2 separate regions of the Homo sapiens genome follow, and region 1 is linked to region 2. Evidence: promoter capture Hi-C in human tissues and cell types (Jung and others, 2019). All regions are on one chromosome and are shown on one strand. The core of a region is centred on a gene start or on the middle of the fragment in contact, and the rest is flanking DNA. Distances in the headings are between cores, read along the strand shown.

Region 1 (7,645 bases), core at 4,516-7,015, 58 kb after region 2:
GCACCTCCATGCAGCTCTCTATTTACTGCCTACCTCTCCAGCTACCATTTTGACCCCTGTAAACCAGGAATGGAAGGGAAAAGGAGGGCAATTTTTACTCTTATTCTCATCTGAGTGTACAGCAGAGTTTACCAGAGGCTTCACAAATGATCAGGCCATTGCTCTGGCCGCTAATGGAATGAGTACTTGTGTTTTATAAGTCTGAAGATTTAGCTTCAATGTGTTCATCAGTTTTGTTTTTTGTATGACATTGAAGATCCAAAAATAACCTAAAATCCAAATGATAATTAAAAGAAACCACCAATGGAAGAAAAAACATTGATAATGTGTTTTCTTTTTTCTAATTAATTCTGGAATAGTAGAGCCCTTAGAATGCTTTGATGGCCACCTATTGCTTAATCGTATGTAACTGTGATTGATCTGACCCAGACTACTCTTCCATTAGTTATTATATATAATGAATATCAAATAATAACCAATCAGCATAGAACACACTCAGTAATTTGTAGGTTTGTTCTTTCATCAAAAACATTTATAGCTTTCAGCTTTTAAAAATAGTTCTGGAGTACAGCAAGATAGAGAAGGGGAAAATTGGCCTCTATATTACAGAGGATAGCAGATGAACAGGGTTGATTTCATTTTGGGCACTTTGCCCAGGACACTTTTAATAGCATATATAGTTACTCTAGGGATTCTGAATCTGTGGTTATGTCAGGCTTACACATTTATTCTTTAAAAGGAAAATTTGCAAGTTATTAGACTTCAGGTACATTAGTATGACTTAAATTTTTAATTTTTAAAGAAGTTTCTGTAACGCAGTCATTGAAAATTTGTGGTGTGAGGGCTGGATTCCTTAATATTAAAACTAACCTAATCATGGATAGAAAAATATTTTAAACTTTCTTCTTCTAAAACACAGTGTGTTCCTCAGTTCTTTCAAAGTTTGTTTTTTTGTTTTGTTTTGTTTTGTTTTGTTTTGTTTGAGACAGAATCTCGCTCTGTCGCTCAGGCTGGAGTGCAGTGGCACAATCTCGGCTCACTGCAACCTCTGCTTCCCAGGTTCAAGCAATTCTCATGCCTCAGCCTCCCTAGTAGCTGGGATTACGGGCACACACCACCACGCCCAGCTTATTTTTTGTATTTTTAGTAGGGACGGAGTTTGGCCATACTGGCCAGGCTGGTCTCAAACTCCTGAGCTCACGCAGTCCCCCCACCTCAGCCTCCCAAAGTGCTAGGATTACAGGTATGAGCCACCGCACCTGACCAGCTCTTTCAAAGTTTAAGTCAAATTTTAAAAGATGTCTAAACTAGGAATTGGAAGTTTATTTTAACGTGAAGAATTTTTAATCTTAGTATTTTAAAGGAATTTTTGTATACTCAGGAATCAAGTATTTTAGAAAAAAATTAAATTTTAGAGATGGTGTACTTTCTATTTCACTACTTTATAATTTAGAATTATTAACCTTAGAATTTGCTTTCAAAATTGGAAGGAAAAGCCGGGCGCAGTGGCTCATGCCTGTAATCCTAGCACTTTGGGAGGCCAAGGTGGGCGGATCACCTGAGGTCAGGAGTTCAAGACCAGCCTGGCCAACATGGTGAAACCCCATCTCTACTAAAAATACAAAAATTAGCCAGGCATGGTGGCGTGTGCCTGTAATCCCAGCTACCCGGGAGGCCGAGGCAGGAAAATTGCTAGAACCCTGGAGGCAGAGGCTGCAGTGAGCCAAGATTGCGCCACTGTACTCCAGCCTAGGTGACAGAGCGAGACTCTGTCTCAAAGAAAAAAAAAATTGGAAGGAAAAATATCAATGTGGGCTGGGCACAGTTGCTCATGCCTGTAATCCCAGCACTTTGGGAGGCCAAGGTGGGCAGATGACCTGACGTCAGGAGTTCAAGACCAGCCTGGCCAACATGGTGAAACCCCGTCTCTACTAAAAATACAAAAATTAGCCTGGCATGGTAGCAGGCACCTGTAATCCCAGCTACTTGGGAGGCTGAGGCAGGAGATTTGCTTGAACCTGTGAGGTGGAGGTTGCAGTGAGGGGAGATTGTGCGGCTGCACTCCAGCCTTAGAGACAAGAGCAAGACTCCATCTCAAAAAAAAAAAAAAAAGAAAGAAAGAAAAATACCAATATGGTAATAGAGCTTGTGTTGAGATAGTGGCTTTGAGTGAACTTTTCCTTTTTTCTGTTTTCCAAAATTTCAACAATATGTTCATTACTTTTATTATTTATAAAATTATTTATTAACTATCCCCCAAAATTAGCTTTAAGAAGCACTGGACATTAAAAAGGCTAAGATTCTTTTTTTTTTTTGAGATGGAGTCTCACTCTGTCGCCCAGGCTGGAGTGCAGTGGCGTGATCTCGGCTCACTGCAACCTCCGCCTCCCGGGTTCAAGCAATTCTCCTGCCTCAGCCTCCTGAGTAGCTGGGACTACAGGCACATGCCACTACGCCCGGCTAATTTTTTGTATTTTTAGTAGAGATGGGGTTTCACCATGTTGGCCAGGCTGGTTTGGAACTCCTAACCTCAAGTGATCTAACTGTCTTGGCCTCCCAAAGTGTTAGGATTATAGGCGTGAGCCACCACATCCAGCCTTGAATTCCTTTAAATATTATGCTACTTTGTTTGCTCTTCCAAACTCTAGTTGGTATTACTTAATAATGGGGTCTTTCCATTAGAGTTGTAACTTTTTTCCATTATTAGTTATAACTTTGATATGATGGGTAGGTAAATAGATAAATTAGATAGCTATGAGTCTTCACTAACTTGGGATATTCTTAGCTTTTTAACATTTCGATGGGTACCATCCCAGTGTCTCAGATGCTTGATAGCAATATATAGTCACAGTACATTTCTTAAGTGATAAATAGTAGCTACAAGTGTTGATGGTTCCGGTTGGCTATATTAGTCCCAGTAGTCCAATGGACTGCTACCAAAATAGTACAGTACATGAGATATACCATGATAAAACCACAACCAGAATTGTGGTCATTAATCTCCTACTTTTTCTTCTTTTTTGACCTTTTTATTTTTATAAGGTTGTCTTTCTGTTTTCCTAATCCTTATTTGTAAAGTCTAAAATGAATAGCTTTTATATAAGGATTTAGAATATTTTAAGGCCAGGCACGGTGACTCATGCCTGTAATCCCAGCACTTTGGGAGGCCAAGGCGGGTGAATCACTTGAGCTGAGGAGTTCAAAACCAGCCTGGGCAACATAGGGAAACCCCATCTTTACAAAAAATGCAAAAATTAGCCAGGCGTGGTGCTCTGCACCTGTGGTCCTCCTACTCTGGAGGCTGAGGCAGGAGAATTGCTTGATCCCAGGAGGTTAAGGCTGCAATGAACTGTTATCACACCACTGCACTCCAGCCTGGGCAACAGAGCAAACCCTATCTCGAAATTATATATATATATATATATATATATATATATATATATATATATATATATACACACACACACACACACACACACACACACACATTTTATATGTATACATATATTAAACATATACACATAATATATATATATAATATATGTACATATAATGGGTCAAAAAATTAAAAACACAAAATATTTAAACATTGTGGGTGACAGAGTGAGATTTGGTCTCAAACAAATAAATAAATAAAGGAATTCATTTGGTAAGTACTATTTATTATCTGTTATGTATTAGGCACTGTGCCAGACACAGAGGATACAACGTAGAGTTGCTTAGAGCAAGATACTTGCAGGTCCTGCCCTCATCAAGCTTAAGGAATAGTGGGGAAAACAAATACTGAACTGAAGTTTAAAATGATGGCAAACATTACACATAACTGAATAGGCCCTGCAAATAAGTAACAGGAGTTTAACCTGGTTAGGGATGAAGACAGGAAGATGGGGGTTGGGAAGTTTTATAATAAAACTAAATTATTAAGTTATTATATAATATATAATTATTATATAAAGTTTTCTAATAAAACGAAATTATTATATACGTGTGACATGTTGGGAAGTAGAGAAGAAAAAATGTGAATATATTGAGTTTATACAGATGTATGATATTTAGCTACTACTTTTCTACTCATTAGATTACATATTGTGTTTTTTTTACAGTTCAAACGATATGTCAATAAACTTCGAAGCAAGAGTACAGTTTTCAAAAAGAAGCATCAGATAATAGCTGAACTTAAAGCTGAATTCGGTCTTTTGCAGAGGACTGAAGAACTTCTTAAGCAACGTCATGAAAATATTCAACAACAACTGGTAATACAGTATTATCTTGGGCTACTATAAATACAAATGCCAGGAGGTTTATGGGTTACAGCTTTATACTGAAGTCATTGTTTTTACTGGAAAAATGATAAAAGTATTACTTTTCTCTGATTAATTACAGACATGACATATAAGTTGATTCATTTATTTTTAATGTAGCAGTAAGCACTGGCTTTTGTGTGTGTGCTGACTTCGGGGTTATTAATAGAAAAACTTGAATTCCAAGTAGGTTTTTTCTTTTGGTTAGTTAGTTAATATGAGTAAAATTATCATACCAAGAGAGTGACTGTAAAATATTTTTTTATCATGGCCTGCTGGGCAGAAATTTCTAAGCAGCCACTTCCAAGAAGCTTTGGAAAGAAATATCCAGGGAAGTGCTGTGTGGAAGTCTGCCTCCAGGCTTATTCCTTATGTGTTTGTGCCTTGGTTGTCTGAAAAAAGTTAAACCCAAAGTAGTCCCACAGCAAAGTTGTTCTCATTGTGGATGCCAGTTCCTCAGGGTTTCCTTCATTTGGCTTTTTTTTTTCTTTCACCAACGAGGAAACTTTCATCTGGGTGCTGGTTTACCAGCTAGCAATAATCTGGTAGAAGTAAGTGGAATTTCAACCAGTTGTGTTTCCTTTTAACTGGCAATATGAACTGTCTCATGCTGATGAATATTATTTGCTTTTAGGGAACTTAAGACTGAAAATTTACTGTGAATCAACATGGATTCTAACAGCACTAACTTTAAAACTGATAGTAGTAACTGCATTATTGTTTACTTCAAAATATCTTCTAATTTCTATTGTGATTTCTTTGACCTTTTGGTCATGGCTTAAAATCCAATATTTGGGGGATTTTTCTAGTTACCTTTCTATTATGAATTTCCAGGTTATTTCCATTGTGACCAGAGAGCACACTCTGATTTCAGTCCTGTGAAATTTGTAGTCTTGCATTATGGCCCAGCATACGGTCTGTTTTGGTAATTGTTTCATGTGCAGTGAAGAGAATGTATATTCTGCAGTTGTTGGGAATAGTATTCTAAATATGTCAATTCAGTCAGTATGTTAGCCATGATATTCACATCTTCCATATCCCTGTTGATTTTTTGTCTGCCTGTTCCATCAGTTACTGAGAGAAGTGTGTTAAAAATCTCTAACTATAATTATGGCTTTGTTGCTTTTTTTAGTTCCATCAGTTTTTGCTTCATATTTTTTTCTTAAGTTGGGTCCCTAGAAGCAGAGCTCGAGAAGGGAATTCTTTGTGCTAGTGATTTATTGAGGGAGTACCTTCAGAAGGAGGGGAGTGAGGGAAGCAGATGAGGCAGCAGAAAAAAGCCAAGCAAGAAAAGGACATGGTCTCAACTGGAGCTGGCTTCATTCTGATCCCATGATCAACTTTGGAACAAATTGCACTGGAGTTGATTCCATCTTGATGCAAGGGGGCTGGCCTTTTGTACCCCATGGCAGTCAGTCATTTGGCTGTGGTCAAGTGTAACCTCTTAGGTGAGACACCTCCCATTTCGCTGAGGGCACTCTCTGGAGAAAGGGGTAACTATGAGCTATTTAGCAGTCAACATTCATAACAGTTTGCAAATGAGGTCTGAGTGGGGCACCAGCAACATCTACTACAGTTCACCCCTTGCACTAGTAGGATCTACTTGTTTGTCACATTAAATTTACTCCACCCAGCTATAGCTTCTATAGGATTCTAGTTGGTCGCAATTTCTAGGAAAACTTATAGGAGAAAGATTAGTGGGACAAATGGAAACTCTCATTGCTACATTTGGTTCCAAGGACATAACTGATATTCAACATCTCCTTCCTTTACTATCCATTCTAGAGTTCCCTCACCTCAGCTAGTACCTCCTCTGGTTTAGATGACTTACTTGGTGGGATGACCCAGTTCCTCATCCTTGAGAAGTGTGAGACTCTAGTAATCATGCCCTTACCAGGCCATGGCTGCTATACTTCCCCATTTACAGTTAAAACTGGGCATGGGAGTACCAAGATATGCCCTAATGGATCATCTGAGTCCTAAATATATTTCTTTCTGTCCCTGTTATATAGCAGCATCTATATAGCCTTATGATACCCTGCTTTCTTTGCCTGCTGATCTATTGACATGAGAAGCTCAAGTGACCAGATGGTAGTCAGAACATTAAGTGTCAAGGGCCTCTTAATGTGCCTTCTGATGGAAGCATGCCATCAGAATATCTCTGGCAACCAGAGTATCTATACCCACAGAGCCTACAGTTGTCTGGAAGGGAAGCATAATTCCCTAAAGTGGATCACTGGGGATCATGGTTCGTGGTGACACCTATACTTTCATCTCATGGTTCTGAGACCTATGCTTTCTATCGGGAACATAGCACCATATCATGGGCATCGGTTTAAGGTGTACACCCCATCCTAAAGGTAGAACTCATTTTCATAGGCCATCCAGTTCCAACTGGGGCCTTACGTTTAAGACACTGTTCCACTATTCTGTCAGGCCATCAGCTTTCCAGATAGTGTAGTATGTGGTAAAATTACTGAATTATATGGTCATACGAATGCTATCATACTTCCTTTGCTGTAAAGTGTGTCCCTTGGTTTGAGGTGATATTATGTGAGATTCCACATCAGTAGACTGAATGCTCTTAGCCCTTGGATAGTAGTGCTGGCTGAAGTACAATGGGCAAGAAAGGCAAACCTATACTCAGAATATGGATCAGTCCCATTAAGGATGAAATGTCACCTTTTTCAGGGCAGAAAGGGTCCGATGTTATTAAATTGCCACAAAATAGGGGGTTGGTTTCCTCAAGGGATGATTCCTTACCCAGAGCTCAGGAATGGTCTCTGTTGCTGGCAGGTCAGACGTTTGATATTGGCAGCAGCTAGATGAGCATTGATGAGAGAGAGCCCATGCTATTTGGCTCATACGTAACTTCCATCTCTACCAACAAAGCCATTCTGTTTGTGAGTCCATTGTTTAAGCACTGTGTGGGCCAATGTCAGAGGCTGGCTGACATCTGCTGGCCAAATCATCCTTTCCACTTGGTTGTTCAGTGCATCTTCTGCAGTGGACATTTTCCGGTTTCCATGTAATGAAAAGATCATTATACTTAGTGCCTACTCCCATAGGTTCAAACACATGCCTCTTTCCTAGACCTCCTTGTCCTTGCTGTCTTGCATCTTCCAGGGCCTTGACCAACAAGCTGAGCCATTTGCCACTGCCCAGAGGATACAGGATAATCTGGGGATTCAAGGTTCTCAAGTGGGTCTATCCAGATACCCCCATCCCAGACTCAGCACCCTTTTTCTTCTCTGTCAGGGCCCTGACTTTGGCATAGAATATTTGCCTAGACTAAGAATTCAACTTTCTCTGGAGTTTTGCCAGTCTTAAAATTAGTCCTGTGC
Region 2 (6,900 bases), core at 3,692-6,191:
GGTAGCAAGGGATGAGTAGGTTTCAGTAACAGGTCCGTTATAACCAAAAACTACTAAAGGCTCCACATCTTGGGTCCTGTAATCTACAACCATGGGTACCCAACAGGCCAAAAATTAACAAAAGTTGAAAGGAAGAGACACTGTAAGAATGAATCCTCTCTCCCGTCCTGCTGATGTATATACCCTGTCACCTGACCTAGGCAATGGAATCCTTATTCATAAGGGGGCGAAAGTGTGTATACAAATGTTCATAGCAGATTATTCATAGTAGCAAAAAAGTGGAACCAACTCAAATGTTCAGGAATAGAAAATGCGTAAAGAAAATGTGGTCTATCCATAGAATGGAATTATTTGGCAATAAAAGGGAATGACGGGCTGGGCATGGTGGCTCACACCTGTAATCCCAGCACTTCGGGAGGCTGAGGTGGGTGGATCACTTGAAGCTAGGAGTTCAAGACCAGCCTGGTCAACATGGCAAAACCCCGTATCAACTAAAAATACAAAAAATTAGCCAGGCGTGGTGGCGCACACCTGTAGTCCCAGCTACTCAGGAGGCTGAGGCAGGAGAATCGCTTGAACTCGGGAGGTTTGAACCCAGGAGGCAGTGGTTGCAGTGAGCCAAGATCATGCCACCGCACTCCAGCCTGGGAGACAGAGGGAGACTCCACCTTAAAAAACAACAACAACAACAACAACAAACAAAAAAACAAAAACGGGAACGGGAATGATGTATTGATCCATGTTACTACATGGATGAATCTTAAAAACATTATATACTAAGCAAAAGAAGTCAGACACAAAAGATCACATTTTGTGTGATTTCATTTATATGAAATGTCCAGAAAAGGCCAGTCCATAGAGATGGAAAATAAATTAGTGGTTGCCTGGGGCTGTGAAGTGGGGAGATTTTCATTGTGAGGGTGATGGCTGAAGGGTACAGGGTTTCTTTTTGGTGTAATAAAAATGTCCTGGGATTAGATAGTGGTGATGATTGCATAACTTTGTGAATATGCTAAAAGCCATTGAATTGTACACCTTTTTTTTTTTTTTTTTTTTTTTGAGGCGGAGTCTCACTCTGTTTCCCAGGCTTGAGTGCAGTGATGTGATCTCGGCTCACTGCAACCTCTGCCTCCTGGGCTCAAGCGATTCTCCTGTCTCAGCTTCTTGAGTATCTGGGATTACAGATGCCCACCACCATGTCTGGCTAATTTTTTTTTTTTTTTTTTTTTGTATTTTCAGTAGAGACGGGATTTCCGCATATTGGCCAGGGTGGTCTCGAACTCCTGGCCTCAGGTGATCTGCCCGCCTCAGCCTCCCAAAGTGCTGGGATTACAGGCGTGAGCCACCATGCCCAGCCTGAATTGTACACTTTAAATGGGTGAATTGTATGTATGTGAATTATATCTTAATAGAGCTGTTTCAAAAAGAGAGTAAGGAAGGAGTGGGAAGCTTTCAGAAAGGCTGTCACATATGGCTGGAACTTCCCTCCCTCTATTAAAAATGTCAAATATAGTTCAGCCAAAAGGCATTGTTGGGAGCTTACAGAGAAGACTCAACATAGCATCTAAGGAGGAAAAAAAAAGGCTTCACGGGTAGCTCAGCTGGGAGGAGATCAGCAATGCCTCTGTTGTTGTGAAATTGTTGCTGACAATTCCCTCTTAGACTCTTCAACGAATCCACCCAAGGTTTTATGTTAAATGAATCAGGCGGCTGGGCGCGGTGGCTCACACCTGTAATCCCAGCACTTTAGGGAGGCTGAGACAGGAGAATTGCTTGAGCCCAGGAGGCGGAGGCTGCAGTGAGCCGAGATTGCGCCATTGCACTCCAGCCTGGGTGACAAAGTGAGACTCCATCTCCAAACACAAACACACACACACACACACACACACACACACACACACACACACACACACACAGAATCAGGGGGTGGTAGCCAATCTTCCTTTGGCCTCGGGGACCCAATATATGCAGTTCTCTTTTTTACTGTAAGTCGGAACATAAATTTTTCAATATACAGATTCCAGGAAGCATGCTGACTGGCTTCAAGTTCTTCCCCGTGTTCCAGAGCAACCATATTAAGCATAAAATCTATTCAAGTTTGAGTCCAAAGAGTGGATCCTCTTGCTTATTTGAATTTATACAGGATTGCAGTCTCATAACTGAAAGGTATAGTGTTTGTAGACCAGGGGCAACAGAGAGAGGAGGAACTAAAAGCTATTAGATAAACCACTCCTATCTAGGATTTCTATAGCCTATACCCATAAACCCTATAGAAGGTGCAAATCTAACCATCTTTTTTTTTTCTTTTTTCTTTTCTTTACTTTTTCTTTTTTCTTTTCTTTTCTTTTTTTTTTTTTTTTTGAGACAGAGTCTCACTCTGTTGCCCAGGCTGGAGTGCAATGGCGTGATCTTCGCTCACTGCAACCTCTGCCTCCCAAGTTCAAGTGATTCTCCTGCCTCAGCCTCCCACGTAGCTGGGATTACAGGCATGCACCACCGCACCCAGTTAATTTTTGTATTTTTGATAGAGATGAGGTTTCACCTTGTTGGCCAGGCTGGTCTTGAACTCCTGACCTCAAGTGATCGGCCCATCTCAGCCTCCCAAAGTGCTGGGATTACAGGCATGAGCCATTGTGTCTGGCAAACCATCTTATTTTTAAAGTTTTATTCAAAAAATTCTTTTACTTCTTTTTTTTTTCTTTTTTCTTTTCTTTTTTTAAAGATGGGGTCTCACTGTTGCTCAGGCTGGACTTGAACTCCTGGGCTAAGACTGTCCTCCCACCTCAGCCTCCCAAAGTGCTGAGATTACAGGCATGAGCCACCATGTACATGCCTCATTTTTTTAAAAAGAAAAAACATAAATGTCTTCAGTGCCTCCCAATGTTGGGCACTGTTGTAATCACTTTACCTGTATCAACTCCCTTAATCCTCATGTCAACCCTATTGAGGAAGGTTTTATTATAGCCACGTTTTACAGATGAGGAAAGTTTAGCAAGATAAAGAGAGGGTACACAATGGCAGATGCAGAATTCAAACCCAGGTAGCCAGGGATGTCTCCTAACACACCCAACAGGATCAATGAATTATATAATCCCTTCTACAAATCTTGTATTGTTTCTGTCAGTATTATGTAAGTTATTTAATTCTTTGAGGTTTTGAGTGTTGCTTCCCCTAATTGGTTGTGGGGTGGGGCCAGTTTTAGTTTCTCTCCAGGAGCCCTGCAGGGTACCTACGCTTGATATTTCAACAGTCAGAGGGCAGCCAACAAAGGGACTGGTCTTGGAATGTTGTGTTGCCTCTGCCCAAAACACTCTCCCTTTTCCTGTTTGGCTAATTTTTACTGATCCTTTTTAAGAGATGGGGGTCTCCTTCTGTTGCCCAGCCTGGAGTGCAATGGTGCCACCCCTGACCAATTTTTGCTTTTAATTTTTTGTAGAGAAAGGGTCTTGCTCTGTTACCCAGGCTGATCCTGAACTCCTGGGCTCAAAGTTATCTTGTTGCCTTGGTCTCTCAAAGTGCTGAGATTACAGGCGTGAGCCACGGTGCCAGGCCTAATTTTTACTGATCCTTAAACATCACTCCATTTGACAGAAACTTTCCTGATGGTATGGCCCCTTTGGCACCACCCTCCCCAAATAAACTTGAGGCCCTTAATCTGGGCTCCTAATCATTGGCTTCTCTTGTTACAGCATTTATCTCAATTGTATTGGTGTTGCCCCTTTAATAATCTCTGCCGGCACTAGACTGTCAGCTCCATCAGGGCAGGGGCCAGGTAAGTCCTGCCCTTCTGCATTTCCAGCAGCCTGTACAGTACAGGGCATATAGGAAATGCCTAATACGTAATCTGTTATTTTTTGTTGTGGTAAGTCTGATGCTAAAGCTATAGTTGGTTTCTCCTATGCTGTTTGAGCAGGCAACTAAGTTTTCAAGGTATCAATAATTTGATTTTTTTTCCTTCTCTTTCTTTCATTGCCAGCTGATATCACTAAGTATCGTGGTCTCTAGTCTAATAGAGGTTGGTTCAAAATACCATTTGCCAACTAAGGTCTCCCACAAACCAGCTAGTGCAAATTCCAGTAGACTTTTAAACCTCATCAGTGACTGGGCACAAAGATCTCCCTGCGTCCTGCGTGGGATGTGAACTCCATGAAGACCACAAGGAGGATTTAATTTATTTCTGCAGTCACCTAAAGAGAGCCCACTCAGAAGCCAAAGGAACATTAGGACACTTAGTTCTCCCACACCCCCTTTCAGGCTCTCAGCATACTCAAAACGTATTGGGTTTAAAAAAATTTAATTCCCAGTACAGGCAATGTGGCCCAGTAATGTGACACAGAAGCTGAAATCTCTATGATGAATGTGTCTTCTTTTAATCCTGCCAGAGCCTCACTACAATTGTTCCTATGCATAACCTAATTTGGAGATACTTATGTCAAAAACCTAAATTTGAAGCACTGGCCAAATGCTTGCTCATCCCAACCCCCCTACCACCCAGCCCTGCCTCAAAAACAAACAAAAATCATCACCCACGTTTGGCGCATGAATGCATGCATGCATGCATGAATGAATGAATGAATGAAACATCACACGCATTTAACATAGGTTAATCATGCAGAGAGTATTTTGTAAACTGCGAAGTGCAGGACTTTCGGGAAGCTTATTGTAGCGCGTCTAGGTCGGAGTAACAGTCCCAAATGCCCTCGGCTGTCTGCAGTGGCTCAGCACGTGGGCCCGCTTTGCAAGTAAGCCCGGCTCCCGTCCGCCCCGTCCGCCCCGCCCCGTCCCGCCCCGTCCCGTCCGCTCCGCCCCGCCCCGCCCCGTCCGCTCCGCCCCGCGCCCGTCCTCCCCGCCCTGGCCCGGCCCCGCCCCCCAGCTCGTGCGCGCGCGCGCGGGAGAGCGGCCGCTCGCCCGGAAGTGACGTAACTCTACGGCCTAGCAACCGTTGCCAAGGAGCTCGACTCTGGGAGCGGTCTAGAGCCCGGGCGCCTCCTGGGGGGTGGGGAAACGGTTTCGTGAGGAGAATTTGAGGTAACCTCGCCAACTCGCGGTCGGAAGCTCCTCTGAACCCCGAAATAGGAGAGAGCTCCCGTCCTCTCTCGGTCCTGATGCAGCACCTCGCAAGTGGAAGGGGTCGTCGCGGTTAAGCCCCCGGATAGGGGAATCGGGCCCCTTCTGGGATTCGAGCGGATCCAGGCCGCTCCCTGGAGGGATGAACTGTCGAGGGGCCCAGGGCAGCCCCCGCTAGAGGCCCGGTCGGGTGTGGGGTCCCCTGTCCCCTGTCCCGAGCCCGGGGAGGGGGACACTATTTCTGGTACTCCCAGGAGGCTGCGGGTCGATGCTCGTGCCAGCCTGGGACCCAGGCAGCACGGTTTCTCTCCCAAATTGTGCCAGAGAACACGCACGTCCTGGTTTTCATTGTTCCCCGCCTCCTGCGACTCGTTTGTGGGTGAGTGCTTGGGAATTAGCGCGGCGACTTCGCGCTAGAAGAGGGACAGTAATTGCTTTTGCTAATTTTAGAGCGCAGAGCCCGCTGGGCACAGACAGCCTTCCTGTTCAGTACATCTTTGTCCTTATCGAGTGACCATTTTTGCAGGCTGGTGGGCGACTTGGGGGGAACCCAACTGGTTTATTTTGCCTTCCTGGAAACGTTGTACTAGTTTATCCAGATTTTTTTTTAAGGGAAAAAAGAGTAGACCTATAGATAATTTCTAAATCATTTAAAATGAAATACATATTTCTGCACGCAAAGGTTATGACGTGGACTTTTACTTAAAATACTTTAAACAATGGAAAACTTGCACTTCCAATATGGATTTTAAAAAAAAACTTACGTAAAGGTTTTCCTTTTATAGCTTAAAGGAAACCTCAGATTTATTATAAGCCATGGTGGTTATCCTTCCTATCCTCTTTTGACTTATTTCTTAGCAATAATAATTATTTGTGCGTAATTTTTCATCATTGTGGAGAAATTATCTTTTTTATTTTATTTTTTCTGTTGAGACGGAGTCTCTCTCTGTCCCCCAGGCTGGAGTGCAGTGGCGCGATCTCGGCTCACTGCAACCTCCGCCTCCCGGGTTCAAGCAATTCTCCTGCCTCAGCCTCCCAAGTAGCTGGGACTACCGGCGCCCGCCACCACACCTGGCTAATTTTTGTATTTTTAGTAGAGACCGGGTTTCACCATGTTGGCCAGGCTGGCCTCGAACTCCTGACCTCAAGTGATCTGCCTGCCTCGGCCTCCCAAAGTACTGGGATTACAGGAGAGAACGACAGCTCCCGGCAGCAACTCATTGCTTAATTCATTTTTAATCCTTAAAGCATTTACCTAGGTAAAGCTGTTTCAGCAGTTAATAAATCAGATATTCAGTTTTTTAAAAAGTTATGATCTTTCTCACTGCCAGCCTGATTTCCTTTAGATTTAGGCTTATGTTGTACTTGTGCCTGTGAACAAGTTCATTCAATCTAGTGGAAGGAATCACTGTTTTAGACACAATGGATGTTCAAAAATGGAATTGGACACAGATACGGAATTTACAGTTTAGCAGGGAAGAGAAGATGCGTACCTAAAGAACTAGCACAAGATCGGCCAGGCGCGGTGGCTCACGCCTGTAATTCCAGCACTTTGGGAGGCCAAGGTGGGCGGATCACGAGGTCAGGAGATCCAGACCATCCTGGCTAACACGGTGAAACCCCGTCTCTACTAAAAATACAAAAAATTAGCCAGGCGTGCTGGCAGGCGCCTGTAGTCCCAGCTACTTGGGAGGCTGAGGGAGGAGAATGGCTTGAACCTGGGAGGCGGAGCTTGCAGTGAGCCAAGATCGCGCCACTGCACTCCAGCCTGGGCGACAGAGCGAGACTCCGTCTCAAAAAAAAAAAAAAAAAAAGCACAAGATCAAAAGTAGT

Evidence for each region. The method cuts DNA at HindIII sites, captures the fragments that hold promoters and counts their contacts. A contact is called where the count stands out against the background at its distance.
Region 1: a contact is called between a fragment that was not itself captured here and the fragment with the promoter of IFT81 in region 2, in 1 of the 25 tissues and cell types used here (aorta).

The regions. Positions count from the first base shown.
Region 1 is chr12:110,176,319-110,183,963 of GRCh38, forward strand. It overlaps IFT81 (intraflagellar transport 81), which reads left to right. Exons shown (of 19, transcript NM_014055.4): 12 at 4,104-4,253. Among named protein-coding and RNA genes, the nearest start is that of IFT81, 56 kb to the left of the region's middle. The HindIII fragment of the contact is 3,163 bases long and covers 4,185-7,347 here.
Region 2 is chr12:110,119,416-110,126,315 of GRCh38, forward strand. IFT81 (intraflagellar transport 81) reads left to right here and starts at 4,942. Exons shown (of 19, transcript NM_014055.4): 1 at 4,942-5,446. RefSeq lists a silencer at 4,756-5,025. The HindIII fragment of the contact is 7,034 bases long and covers 3,053-6,900 here.